Regions from separate parts of the Homo sapiens genome. Here region 1 is linked to region 2. The links are contacts of gene promoters, found by promoter capture Hi-C in human tissues and cell types (Jung and others, 2019). All regions are on one chromosome and are shown on one strand. The core of a region is centred on a gene start or on the middle of the fragment in contact, and the rest is flanking DNA. Distances in the headings are between cores, read along the strand shown.

Region 1 (6,667 bases), core at 1,172-3,671, 890 kb before region 2:
CGAAATCTAGCAGGAACTCAGGGAAAAAAATTACAAAATCTAAAGCCAATTACTTAATATTTCTTATTACCTAAACAACAGCATGACATTAACAGAAAACTGCACCTGCATTTCAATTGCCAATCTCACGTTAATTAAGTTCTCCAAAAATGAAATGCAACCAAAACGGGTTCAAACTCCAAATGAAAGTCTGCAAGGCTCAGATTAAAACATGGAATGTTTCAGATGAAAGTAATAAAAACACTATTGGTTTTGTTCTTTATTGAATGGAATAAAATGTTGACATTTCTTTGAAACTTGGAACTACTAAATTTCATTTTTCCAAATGGTTCTACATTTTTTTCTTAGTGGTGCAAGTTGTCTTAAGTAGCTTAGGAAGTCAATCTCTACAAAGTACTTCTGTCTGTTGCCATTCTGATAAAACAAAAACTATTCATTAACTTAACCATATGTGTATTTTTTTTGCTATAACACTTAACACATGAACAGACATCTATTATTTCTCCACTAAAACAAAAGAGTACAATAGTTTTCTTCTAACTATCAGTATTGTATTTAAAAAAGGTTAACATTAAAAACAAAGAACCATTATTTTCTTTGAAATCATTAAATCTCCTTGCACATCTTAAGTTTCCTTCTTCTGTCTGCGTTCTTCTGCCAATTTATTCAGAAATTTCTATAAAGAAAGAGAATTACAGCCATTAAGTCACCTAAGAGAAATGCAGCAAAATGGATTAATTCCAAAATCAAATATCCTATATCCAAGTTTAGGGACTTAAACTATAATTTTGTCAATATTTTCAACAATTAGTTAATCCTCATTAGCACACAAAAACTTTCAGGACATTACAATAAGGCACGGGGAAAAAATGGTAAAAGGTATAAAATGGGTATTTCAAATGTTATAATTAACCCTAATTTTTAGAGATGAGAAAACAAAGACCACAGTCACACTGAACTGACACTATTCAAGAACTATGGGTTTAAATGACATGCACTTTTATTCTTTTTTTTTTGAGGGAGAGTTTTGCTCTGTTGCCCAGGCTGGAGTGCAGTGTCGTGATCTCGGCTAACTGCAACCTCCACCTCCCAGGTTCAAGTGATTCTCCTGCCTCAGCCTCCCAAGCAGCTGGGATTACAGGCACCCGCCACCAAGCCCAGTTAATTTTTTTGTACTTTTGGTAGAGACGGGGTTTTCACCGTGTTGGCCAGGCTGGTCTCAAACTCCTGATCTCAGGTGATCTGCCTGTCCCCGCCTCCCAAAGTGCTGGGATTACAGGCAAGAGCTATCACATCTGGCCTCAATGCACTACTCATTAAATCACCTGAACAAACATTTTCTTGCAAGGCCAGCAGTAAATATTTTAGACTCATTGGGCCATTCAGTCTTTGTTACAACTACTCAATCCTGCACTCAATTATAAACTAAAACAACTATAGATGACACTTAAATGATTATGGCTGTGGGTTCTAATAAAACCTTACAAAAACAGATGACTGAGCCACGAGTGTAGCTTGCTGACCCCTGCCATTAAACCTGTGACTGCTAGAGTTTCTAGACACGGGAGCTCCATTAAGACACTAATGAAAGTACAAAAGACATATTAAAAAATCTAACCTAAAATGTCCAAAGCTTCTTTCCATCTCATTGGAATTTCAACTTTATATAGTTAATGCAAAATAGTAAGAATTAAAAGCCATTATATCTTTTAAAGAAAAACAACAACAACAAAAAATCACCCCACAAACATCCAGTTAGGAAAGTATCAATTTACCATTAGCAAGTTACTGTAATGCTTAACAGTTTCTTGATGAAGGTGACAAAGTTTTTTTTTTTTTTTTAATAAAAGGAAATAATAGGCCGGGCATGATGGCTCACGCCTGTAATCCCAGCACTTTGGGAGGCTGAGGCAGGCGATCACCTGAGGTCAGAAGTTCAAGACCAGCCTGGCTAACATGGTGAAACCCCGTTTCTACTAAAAATACAAAAAATTAGCCAGGCGAAGTGGCACACGCCTGTAATACCAGCTACTCGGGAGCCTGAGGCAGGAGAATTGCTTGAACCCGGGACGCAGAGGTTGCAGTGAGCTGAGATTGTGCCATTGCACTCCAGCTTGGGGAACAAGAGCAAAATTCTGTCTCAAATAAAAAAAAAATAAATAAAATATAAGGAAATAATAAAAGGAGCCACAAGAAGCACCTAGCAATCTTTTATATTATTTCCATATTCTTCTCGACAATACATATAGTTTTTGACCCCAAACAGCTTAAAATCAAAGCAGATAAAAATATTTGTACCAGGGCGGGCACTATGGCTCAGGCCTGTAATCCCAGCATTTTGGGAGGCTGAGGTGGGAGGATCATCTGAAGCTGGGAGTTCAAGACCAGTCTGACCAACATGGAGAAACCCCATTTCCACTAAAAATACAAAATTAGCTGGGCATGGTGGCGCATGCCTGTAATCCCAGATACTCAGGAGGCTGAGGCAAGAGAATGGCTTGAACCTGGGAGGCGGGGGTTGGGGTGAGCCAAAATCGCGCCATTGCACTTCAGCCTTGGGCAACAAGAGCAAAACTGTCTCAAAAAAATAAAATAAAATAATTTGTACTACATTGCTGCTACCATTGCAAATAGCCACAATTCTTTCTTCATATACAGGATGGTAAAAGACATATAGGTGGCAAAGAGCAGTTACATTTAAAAAAAAAAAAAAAAACAGAAGTGACACACAGCCAAGAACTTGAATTATTTCCAAAATTAAAGATTACATTCATCCATTTAGTCAACAGAGAACATATCTAATGACTGAGTAACTATAGTTAACTTATTATAAAGCAGTGTGAAAAACCAAGGTATCTATAATTGACTTGTTTAGCAACTACTTTTAAGTTTCAGTCACTATTTCAATAGGTAGTCCAAAGAAGCTGATAATTACAAAAACAAATTTCAATATATCTCAATAGGAATTATTCTTTAGTGATGTTGTGGTTTATGTATTTATGCTTTTGATCTTTATATACTTTTGGTCATAAAAATAACTGAAGTGTCAATAATAATGTCAATATTAAAAATTATTTTAATATGAATGGTCATGCCACTTTTAGTATTCAGACTCCCAGCATCTTTCAAATTAGAGAAAGTACAGCCCAACAACAATCTGAGAATACTTGAATAAGTTTAATTCTACCACAGAATTTATAATATGGTTAGAAAACACTAAATTGTTATGTAGCAAGGGTAAACTATGACAAGAGGTTCAACAGATGTTTTGATAACCCATCAATAAAGAAAGAAAAGGCCAGGCGCGGTGGCTCATGCCTGTAATCCCAGCACTTTGGGAGGCTGAGGTGGGTGGATCACCTGAGGTCAGGAGTTCAAGACCAGCCAGGCTAGCCAACATGGTGAAACCCCATTTCTACTAAAAATACAAAAATTAGCTGGGTGTGGTGGTGCATGCCTGTAATCTCAGCTACTTGGGAGGCTGAGGCAGGAAAATTGCTTGAACCCAGGAGGTAGAGGTTGCAGTGAGCCAAGATTGCACCATTGCAATCCAACCTGGGCAACAAGAGAGAAACTGTCTTTAAAAAAAAAAAAAAAAGTAAATAAAAAGTTATCTTCAGGAGAAAGCACTGCACTGAGTCTAGAGAGAACACTATACACATTTTACTTATATACCCCACTTATTTCCATAACTTGTTAAGTTTTCACAAAAGAACTGTTTTACATTCAACCTTACCTTTAATTTCTGATAATGAGGAAGGCTGCTGCAATGAGTATTCTTTGCAACTTCTTCATTTGTATAAAAGAGTGAACACAGCTTACAGTAAAACCCTGTTTTAGGTATCACATAGTCTATACCTAGAAATACAAACATACATTCTTACAAATTAAACTGAAGATTTTATTTAGTATTCACAATTTCACCTGTCAACATAATTTAAATGAAACAACATGTTTTTGAGAAGTCCAATACAGCCTAAGATAAAAAACAAAAACCGAACCATATTTTGCTTTTACCTAATTGATGTTTGAGGTCTCACCTAACTGTATTCTTAAAAAAAGAAATATAATACAGAAAAACAACACAGAAAAGCAAAACAAAAGCGTGTAACTTGCAAGAAATTTTACGAAAAAAGGGAACACATTGTGGAATAACAACAGAAAATAATACAAAATCAGAGACATGCATGAGAGGAAAATATATCAATTAAGATTTATAAATTGTTCCCCATAGAAACAAAGCAAATTTAAAATGCTATCACAGCTTATGTAAGACCAACTTTAAAATCTTATTTTAAAACCTAAGAGTTTGTTTTGAGGAGAGTGAGGAAGGTGAAGAACAAAGACTTAAATCTCACCAACAGGAACATTGGGCTGATATGGTCCAATTCTATACTCATCTGGGATTGTATAGTCGTCCTTGTTCTCATCACTTTGACCATCTGCGTTTTCACTTGTATCTTTGTTGGGATCATCAGCGTTCTCAGAAGATTCAGCACCTGGTTCTGTGTTTTCCTCATTTTTAATTCCATTTTCCAACGCTGCTTCGTTTTCTTGATCAAGTTCCTCGATCTTGTCCACCTTAATTTCAACCAAACCATCATCATTTTTGTCACCAGATTTAAATGCCATGCCCGATTTACGAAGTTTCTGAAGTTCCGAATCTTCCTCATCACCAACCTCATCTAGAGTGACAAAACCTTCCATACTCCCTGGAAAACGACGCTGTTAAGAAAGACAAATTTACTCTGCAACAATTATCCTGCAGCATCCCTTCTGTCTGCTTTACTTGAAGGGAAACGGATAGCGTCTTTGCCTTTTTTTTTTTGAGACGGAGTCTTGCTCTGTCGACCAGGCTGGGGTGCAGTGGCGCGATCTCGGCTCACTGCAACCTCCGCCTCCCTGGTTCACGCCATTCTCCTGCCTCAGCCTCCCGAGTAGCTGGGACTACAGGCGCACGCCACCACGCCCGGCTAATTTTTTTTGTAATTTTAGTAGAGACGGGGTTTCACTGTGTTAGCCAGGATGGTCTCGATCTCCTGACCTCGTGATCCACCCACCTCGGCCTCCCAAAGTGCTAGGATTACAGGCGTGAGCCACCGTGCCCGGCCGCGTCTTTGTCTTTATTCATTGGCTCAAAATAGTAACTTCTTCCTTTCTTCCAAAAAATTACTGATAATTTGAAAAATAATTTAGCTTATTTTAAAACTAAAAAATGGAAGGTCTGCCTCACACAAAGAGCAGAAGTTAAATGAGATAGGAATATTCATATTTTATCTTTTCTGAGACTACAATGCTGCTAGGCAATGTGTAAAAAACTTGATTTGGTAAAAGTTGAGCAATATCCTTTGTAAGACAGTATACTGCAAATACCTACTCTTTAGAGCAAATACTCAAACAGTGTAATGGCTAAAAAACCAAGCTCTGGGCCAGGCATGGTGGCTCACACCTGTAATTCCAGCACTTTGGGAGGCTGAGGTGGGCGGATCACCCTGAGATCTCAGGAGTTCAATACCAGCCAGGCCAACATGGCGAAACCTCGTTTCTACTAAAAATACAAGAATTAGCCTCGTGTGGTGGTGGACACCTGTAATCCCAGCTACTTGGGAGGCTGAGGCAGCAGAACTTGAACCTGGGAGGTGGAGGTTGCAGTTAGCTGAGATCACACCACCGCACTCCAGCCTGGGCAACAGAGCAAGACTCCGTCTCCAAAAAAAAAAAAAAAAAAAACAATCATGCTCTGAAGAATGACTGCCCAAGTTTAAATTTTGGCTCTGTGTCTTATAAGCAGTATGGGATTATTTAACTTCTCCATATTTCAATTTTCCTCATTTATGGACTGGAGATCACAGTATGAGATGCATATGGTTACTGTGAGGATTAAATTAATAAATTTAAACTTAGAAAAACGTATGGCATTAAATGCCATAAACATCAGTAATTATTAGCATTTACAAATGTAAACATAATGATCAGCTCTAGTGAGAAAAATTAATGAAGTTATTTGACCAAGCCATCAAATAAAAACTGAGGTAAATATTGGTTTTGAGTTGAATGTTGCATAAAAGGAACCAATGGAATATGGAATAGGATGGCAAAAATCTCATTTCGCTCTACTTTTTTTTTTTCTTGAGACAGTCTTGCTCTTGTCACCCAGGCTGGAGTACAGTGATGTGATCTTGGCTAACTGCAACTTCTGCCTCCCAGATTCAAGCAATTCTCCTGTCTCAGCCTTCCAAGTAGCTGCTACAGGTATGTGCCACCACGCCCGGCTAATTTTCATATTTTTAGTAGAGACGGGGTTTCACCATGTTGGTCTTGAACTCCTGGCCTCAACTGATCTGCTGGGCCTCCCAAAGTGCTGGGATTACAGGCGTGAGCCACTGGGCCCGCCTGACTCCGACATTTTATGAGCCATTTAACATAAAAAGTTTGCCTCAAAGGCATTTTAATGCCCTACTCCTTAAGCTAGGCAGTCAGCTCAATGTGGGTCCTTTGTTTACTCTTCTTTATAGCATGTGTGTATTTTTATATTTATATTCACTTTATACATGGCTTCTAAATGACTTACTTGTTCAAATAAAATTGTTTTAAAGGATACTAAGGTATCTGACCAGGCCAACATTTCTCAAATAGGAAAAATTATTCAATAATTTTTGAATGAGTG
Region 2 (6,667 bases), core at 264-2,763:
CTGGCAGGCAGAGGTACCACTGTGGCCCTGGGGCCCTAGGGAACAGAGGGCACAGGGGCAGGAGGCCCTGAGAGAGGCAAAGAGGCTTATTCCCCCATGTAAACACCACAGGGACAGGGCTCAGGGGAGGGCCCCGCTGGTGATCCAAGTACAGAATGCAGACAAGACACAGGCCGGGAAAGAAGAGGACCGATGCCCTTTGGGGCTTGCCCAGGCAAGAGAGAAGCAGCCACCCTGAAGGCCACATGGAGGCGTGAGGCCCCTCCATTCCCCCTGGGATGGGTGGGGGAAGAGAAGGAGTCTAGAGTAAACCAGGACAGAAGCACTTGGCCGGCCCGGCTGTACCGAATGGGAAGAAGGGAGCAGGGTGGGGCTGCCGGTGTCAGTCCCCAACGGTGGAGGCCGAGGGGCAGTGTCCTCATTAGGGCAGGGGATAGCTCCGAGAACCACGAGGAGCCCCTGTCAGGCTCAGCCCCTTGACAATGTGTGGCTGTCGCCTGTTTCCACATGGACAGGAGGGATACTTCCAAACCGGCTGGTGCAAGTGGAGTGCGGAGCAGAATCCTCAAGGACAAAGTCTGGGCTCGTGGGGAATGGTGTGTGTTCCCTCCTGGGGCCCGGGGAGGTGCCAGAGACACAGCTCCACAGTGTGGCTGGCAGCCTGGAATGAAGGCCACGGAGCGTCCTCCCCCAGCGGGGTCCACAATCCCAGGCTGAGCACACACATCCCCTCTCCCAGTTACCTCTCACACTTTGTCCTCCGAGCATTTCTGCTTCCCGATACCCAGACTTCCTCCCTAGGGGGCCTAAGGGCATATGCCCTCGTCCCCAGTCTCCTGACAGTGAGTGGAAGGGAGAGACCAAGGGGCCTGGTGATGGCTCTGAGCTGCGGAATGATGATGAGGCCCTGCCTTGCTCCACTCTCTTCCATCACCCTGTTACCTCCCCCAGAGGGACAGGGCCCGGGTCTGAGGATCTCCTCCAGCCCAGACCTGCTAGGTGGGGGAGGGGACGCGCCTGCCTCCCCTTTTAAATCAAGCCGTGCTGCTCAGCCTCTAGGATGGGCGCAGGAGCAAGGACGGTAGAAATAAAAGAGGTTATTAATAAAGAATGTGGGTGAGGTCCCTGGGAAGCCAGGCCTGCCACGCTCCCCTAATATTCCCCCCTCCAGTCCTGGGTGCCACATCTCCATGTCTCTGGGGGCCCCAAATAAGGACGCAGCGCCTTTAGGTGACTCTGCTGCACGAAGCTTCGGAGAAGTCCACCCGGGCTTTAACACCCCCGCCCTCCATCACAGCCCGCATCACCCCCCGCCGCCGCCGCACTCACACCACCAGGCGAGAGATGATCCAGGACACCATGGCGGGGCCGGGCGCGGCGCGGGGCGGGGACCCGGCCCGGCCGAGGATGCAGCTGCCTGAGGCCGAGCGGCGGCGGCGGCGGCAGCAGGAGCCGCAGTAGCAGCAGCAGCCGCTGCAGCAGCCGCCGCGGGGGCAGCGGAGCGCCCAGCGCCGCCGTTAAAGGGGAGGTCCCTGCCGCAGCGGCGGGCCGTGGGCGGTGGCGGCTCTTAAAGGGGAGGCCGGGAGGCCGCCGCGGCGGCGGCGGCGCGCCCCCGCCCCGGCACCTGCTGTGGCCGGGCATGCGCCTCCGACCCTCAGTGCCCTGCCTTCCTCGAATCGCTTGTTCATCTTTCTTGGGTTTCAAGCCCTAGGCTGTTGTCGTGGAGGTCTCCATGGTTACATCCTGAAATCGACCCCTGCCCACCTCCTGCCCTGCCCACACCAGGCGCTTACTGTGTGCCAGCCCCTGTGCTAAGAGCTTCACTGCGTTGCCAGTGAATCCTCTTGACCACCCTATAAGGCAGGCGCTATAAAAGCCCTCATTTTGAAGATAAGGGAATGAGAAGCTTAAGGCTCAATAATCTGTTGAGAGTCACAAAGCCACCAAGTCATGCTGCTAAGATGACCCCAGGAAGCCTACTTTAAACAGGTTACATCCCCCAACTGCTGACTAGCAAACTCTCCTCATTACAGGCCCTGAAGACATCCACCTGAGCTCCTGAGTCACAGGTACAGCCGCACCTGTCCACCCCACTCCTTCTCACCCCGTTGAAAGAGGATCTCCCCTGACCAGATGATGTTTTGTTTTTTTGAGACAGGTCCTCACTCTGTCGCTCAGGCTGGAGTGCAGTGGCACAATCTCAGCACACCTCCTGGGCTTGAATGATCCTCCCGCCTCAGCCTCCCGAGTAGCTGGGACTACAGGCCCAAAACACCACCAGCTAATTCCTGTTTTTTTGTTTTTTGTTTTTTTTTGCCAAGATGGGGTTTTGCAATATTGCCCAGGCTGATCTCCAACTCCTGAGCTCAAGCGATCCACCCGCCTCAGCCTCCCAAAGTGCTGGGATCACTGGTGTGAGCCACCGGGCTGCTGGTCTGCTTTTTTAGGTTGTCAGCTCCTAAGCTTTGCAGCGGAACAGAGCTTTATGCTCTCAATGTGGTTACTGACAACAAAGGGTCAACCTTCTTTTCAAACAGAGGGGCTGCGAGAGGGTCCTGGGGCTCCAGTTCCACCCCCATCAGCAAGCACTAGTGGCAGTGAATGTCCTGATTCTAAAGACATTTATATCCAGAATGTAGGCTAGCCTGCCTCCTGATCTTCAGGAAAGCAACCAACCTCCAACCATCCACCAACACCCCCAGCCCTATTGCTCTCCTTTCCTGTCCCATTTTAGAGCTTCTGCATTCCTCTACCCTTTATGTTGAGTTGTAATCCTTCGGGTGACCACAGCATCAACCTGTGCCCATCTGGGCTGAAAGGACACATTCAGAACTGTGTATTTCAAAGAGTCATGGTCTTATTCAAGCTCAGTATCCCTGAACAACACAATGGTCTATTTCTAACCTGGTAAATTATATTTCCAGGTTCAAACACTTTGGAAGATGTTTCCCAAAACGTTCCAGAAAAGCAGCCTCTGATAACCCCTCTTGCTATTCTTTACAACTTCCTCTCCAGAAAACATCTCCTAATTGGAATGCAGTCTGTTATCACCCCACAATGAAACACTTTAATTACTGCTTGATAAATCCCACATGAGTGTCTCCCACCATCTCTAAGGTGGATCTATGGCCACACGTTTCATGTAGGCAGCCAGGCTGCCTGCTTAAGAATCCCACCACAGACTGTCCAACTTTGCTGAGGCCACACACCATGACCCTTCCCCCCAGACTCTGCCACAGGAAGGGAGGACCCCAACTTTCCCACTCCATTCACAAAGCATAAAGTATGGGGAAACATGTCTCTCTTTCTACCCTCTAATTCATGTGGCCCCTTCCCCTTACCCCCAATTCCCCAAACCATACTGACCTCACCCTGGCACTTTCCTTTTTTCTAACATGGCACAGTCTCAACAAGCAAAGAAAAATATCTGGGTGTAGCACAGTCATGAAGACCTGGAAATGAATCCCCCACCTCCAACCCAACTCCCAATCTGATGTTGATTTTAGAAGGGTTGGTACACGAATAATTTAGTCCACTCCAAACAGATTTGTTAGATTTTTAATAAGAACATGGAAATCCCAATCAGCCCTTCAACAAAATTAAAATACAGAAAGTGAAATTAAAAGTATTCTACATTAAATGACTTTTATTTAAAAAAAAAAAAAAAAGTAACTGTGAACATATAAACAGCCTGCAGGGCACTACAGTACAGCTGGAGAGATATACATTTTCCAATGTACCTATGGGCCAATGAATCCCACCATTTTCAAATAAATCCTTAATCAGACTCCACTCAGTTGGAAAGTTTTGCTGAAAATATTTCTGGATAAAAAACAAAAAACCTCATGTTGGAAATCAACTGTCCTTCCCATTTGGAAACATTAAGAGGAGTCCCCAGGGAACACTGGTAATAGGTGAAAATGGTTCCTGGAGTCACCAGTGTTGTACACACACATGGGGAACACACCACAGCTTAGATGTGACAAAGTTCCTTCTCATATGACTGTTCCCTCAAGGTAAGACTAAGATGGGAGGGGGAGAAAAAGAATCCTAAAAAAGCCAATTTTTAAAAATTCTGCTTTGGCTGATTTTGTGCTATAATGGGTAGCTGATTTCTAAAAATCATATTTCTTCAAAGAGTTTTATATCGAAAGGAAGACTAAATGTAATGTGCCTTTCCTTATAATCCAGGAAAACAACTGTGGTATTTCAAAAATTCTAAAAATATCTACTTTCATGAAATAGTAACTATTTCACTACAAACCTATTTTTCACTAAATACACACATTTCCTAATCCTGGAGCCTCCTGGGAAAAGCAGTGGGTTCTCCCTGGGTCTTGCAAGACTCCAGTGTTCACAGGAGAGTGTGGGGAATAGCTTCACCCCGTCTCCTGGGATGGGCTTTGTCAGAGGTCACGTGCAGAGACGCTATCAGACTTCCACCAGGCATGTTTAAGCAATTACCCCATACTTGTACCAGTTATGTGATTTCCCCTATCTCCAAACACATTTCCACTTAACTAGGCACAAGAGGAAAAGAAAAGAAAGGTGTGCCCGTGAATCTCAAATCAGGAGAATGTGCAGGAAAGCCCCGCCATGTTCAGGCAATTTGGATTTCCAAAAGGCCACAGGATAGGGATGTGGCACTCTTGGCTTGGAGTCTCAAACTGTGTGTGTGAACAGTACGACTTTCCTGTGTCAACCTTCAGTGTTGAGGCAGCGTAGAAGAGAGTGGCTGGAGAGTTTGGAATACTGACCACACTGGCTCTGGGTGAAGGGCCTCTGCTCCAGCAAAGAGCCCTGCCGTTCCCTGTTAAGTGTTGTGAGTGAAAGACCTGCTTCACAGAGGAGCTTGGAGTTTCTCCATGCCTAGGACCTTGCCAGTTTGGATTCATGAGCCTTGAGGGTGCCAACCGCATCTTTCACTGCATGGTAAATGATGTTCTTCACCTAGAGAAGGTGTACAGCAAAGTCAGTTCACAGCAGCCCCATGCAAATGTACGTTCTACCTTGACTGTAAGCCTACTGGTTTAGTGGGGAAACTCCCAAAAAGGACTGTGCGTTCCTGTATCAATCCCCACAGTCATTTACAAATCACATAGGGCATGAGGTGTGTACTCAAAAAAGAATAATGAAGTTATGTGAAAGGCCATCTGATCACCATCATTTATGTGCTTACTATGTCCTGGGCAGGCGCTGCTGCTGAGCTCTTTATGTGGACCTTTGCTTAATCCTTGACAGAATCCTATGAGGTAGGTTCTATTATTATCATGCCCAATTTACAGAGGAGAAACTGCGGAAACTAAGGCCACAGTGAACACCTGGAGAACTTTGTTTCCTTATATGGTTAAGAGGCTTCCTTAAGGTTCTACAGCTAATAAGGATGCATTAAAACAAGAGGGGAAAGCAGGATTATGGCCTATTTTTTCCCTTCGTGCTTATATGTTTTCTGATTTGGATATATTACCTGTGAAATTGGAACACACAATAAAAGTTATTGAAAAAAGTGAACAGGCATATTAAGGTGAAGAGAATAAAGACAGCTTTCTTTTAAAGGGCTGACAAGAAAACTGAGGTTATTTCTGGGGAGGAAAAGCGGGGAAATGCAAAGGGGAAGGGTACATGGGGGCTTCAACCATGTAGTTGCTGTATATGTATGTGTGCTATAATTTCTTAAGCTGGGTCATGGGCATCCAAGTCCTTCTTTTACTATTCTCCATTAATTTTTTTGCATTGCTTCAACAAAGATTTATGAATACCTACTATGTGTCAGACATTGTGCTAAGGAAAAGCAGTGAGTAAAATGTAAAATTCCTGCCTTCACAGAGCTTAAATAGCTTACATTCTAGTAGGGTTAAGTAACAGATTAAAAAAATATATCTATATCTGTATCTATAGCTATATCTCAGATGGTGAAAATACTACAGGAAAAATAAAGTAGTGAAAGTGGGACTGGTAGTGCTGGAGCAGGAGTTGTTATTCTAAACAGGGTAGTCAGGAAAGGTCTTTTTTTTTTTTTTTTGAGATGGAGTCTAACACTGTTGCCCACGCTGGAGTGCAGTGGCGCCATCTCAGCTCACTGCAACCTCCGCCTCCTGGGTTCAAGCGATTCTCCAGCCTCAGCCTCCCAAGTAGCTGGGACTACAGGCGCCCACCACCATGCCTGGCTAATTTTTGTATTTTTAGTAGAGACGGGGTTTCGCCATATTGGCCAGGCTGGTCTCGAACTCCTGACCTTGTGATCTGCCCACCTCGGCCTCCCAAAGTGTTGGGATTACAGGCGTGAGCCACCGCGCCCAGCCTGTTGTTTTTAAATAAAGAGACAGAGTCTGTTGCCCAGGCTGGAGTGTAGTGGGGTGATCATAGGTCACGAGAGCTTCAAAACTCCTGGGCTCAAGTAATCCTCCCACCTCAGCCTCCTGAGTGGCTGGGACTGCAGAAACACACCCAACATCCCTAGCTCGGGAAAGGTGTTATGGATAAGGTGACATGTTACCTTTATATTCTCATTCTATGTAAACACCAATGTTGGACGGGCACGGTGACTCACGCCTGTAATCTCAGCATTTTGGGAAGCCGAGGCAGGTGGATCACCTGAGGTCGGGAGTTCAAGACCAGCCTGGCCAACATGGTGAAACCCTGTCTCTACTAAAAATACAAAAATTAG

Evidence for each region. Contacts are between HindIII fragments. The study calls those that stand out against the background at their distance.
Region 1: a fragment that was not itself captured here is called in contact with the fragment with the promoter of REEP2 in region 2 in 1 of the 25 tissues and cell types used here (lymphoblastoid cells).

The regions. Positions count from the first base shown.
Region 1 is chr5:139,323,354-139,330,020 of GRCh38, reverse strand. It overlaps MATR3 (matrin 3), which reads right to left. Exons shown (of 15, transcript NM_018834.6): 13 at 4,359-4,581; 14 at 3,737-3,858; 15 at 1-676. The coding sequence ends at 626. Among named protein-coding and RNA genes, the nearest start is that of PAIP2, 15 kb to the left of the region's middle. The HindIII fragment of the contact is 3,855 bases long and covers 494-4,348 here.
Region 2 is chr5:138,433,903-138,440,569 of GRCh38, reverse strand. REEP2 (receptor accessory protein 2) reads right to left here and starts at 1,513. Exons shown (of 8, transcript NM_001271803.2): 1 at 1,330-1,513. The coding sequence starts at 1,361. It overlaps KDM3B (lysine demethylase 3B), which reads right to left. Exons shown (of 24, transcript NM_016604.4): 24 at 3,543-4,950. The coding sequence ends at 4,870. RefSeq lists an enhancer at 347-880 and a silencer at 1,266-1,685. The HindIII fragment of the contact is 10,254 bases long and covers 1-2,185 here.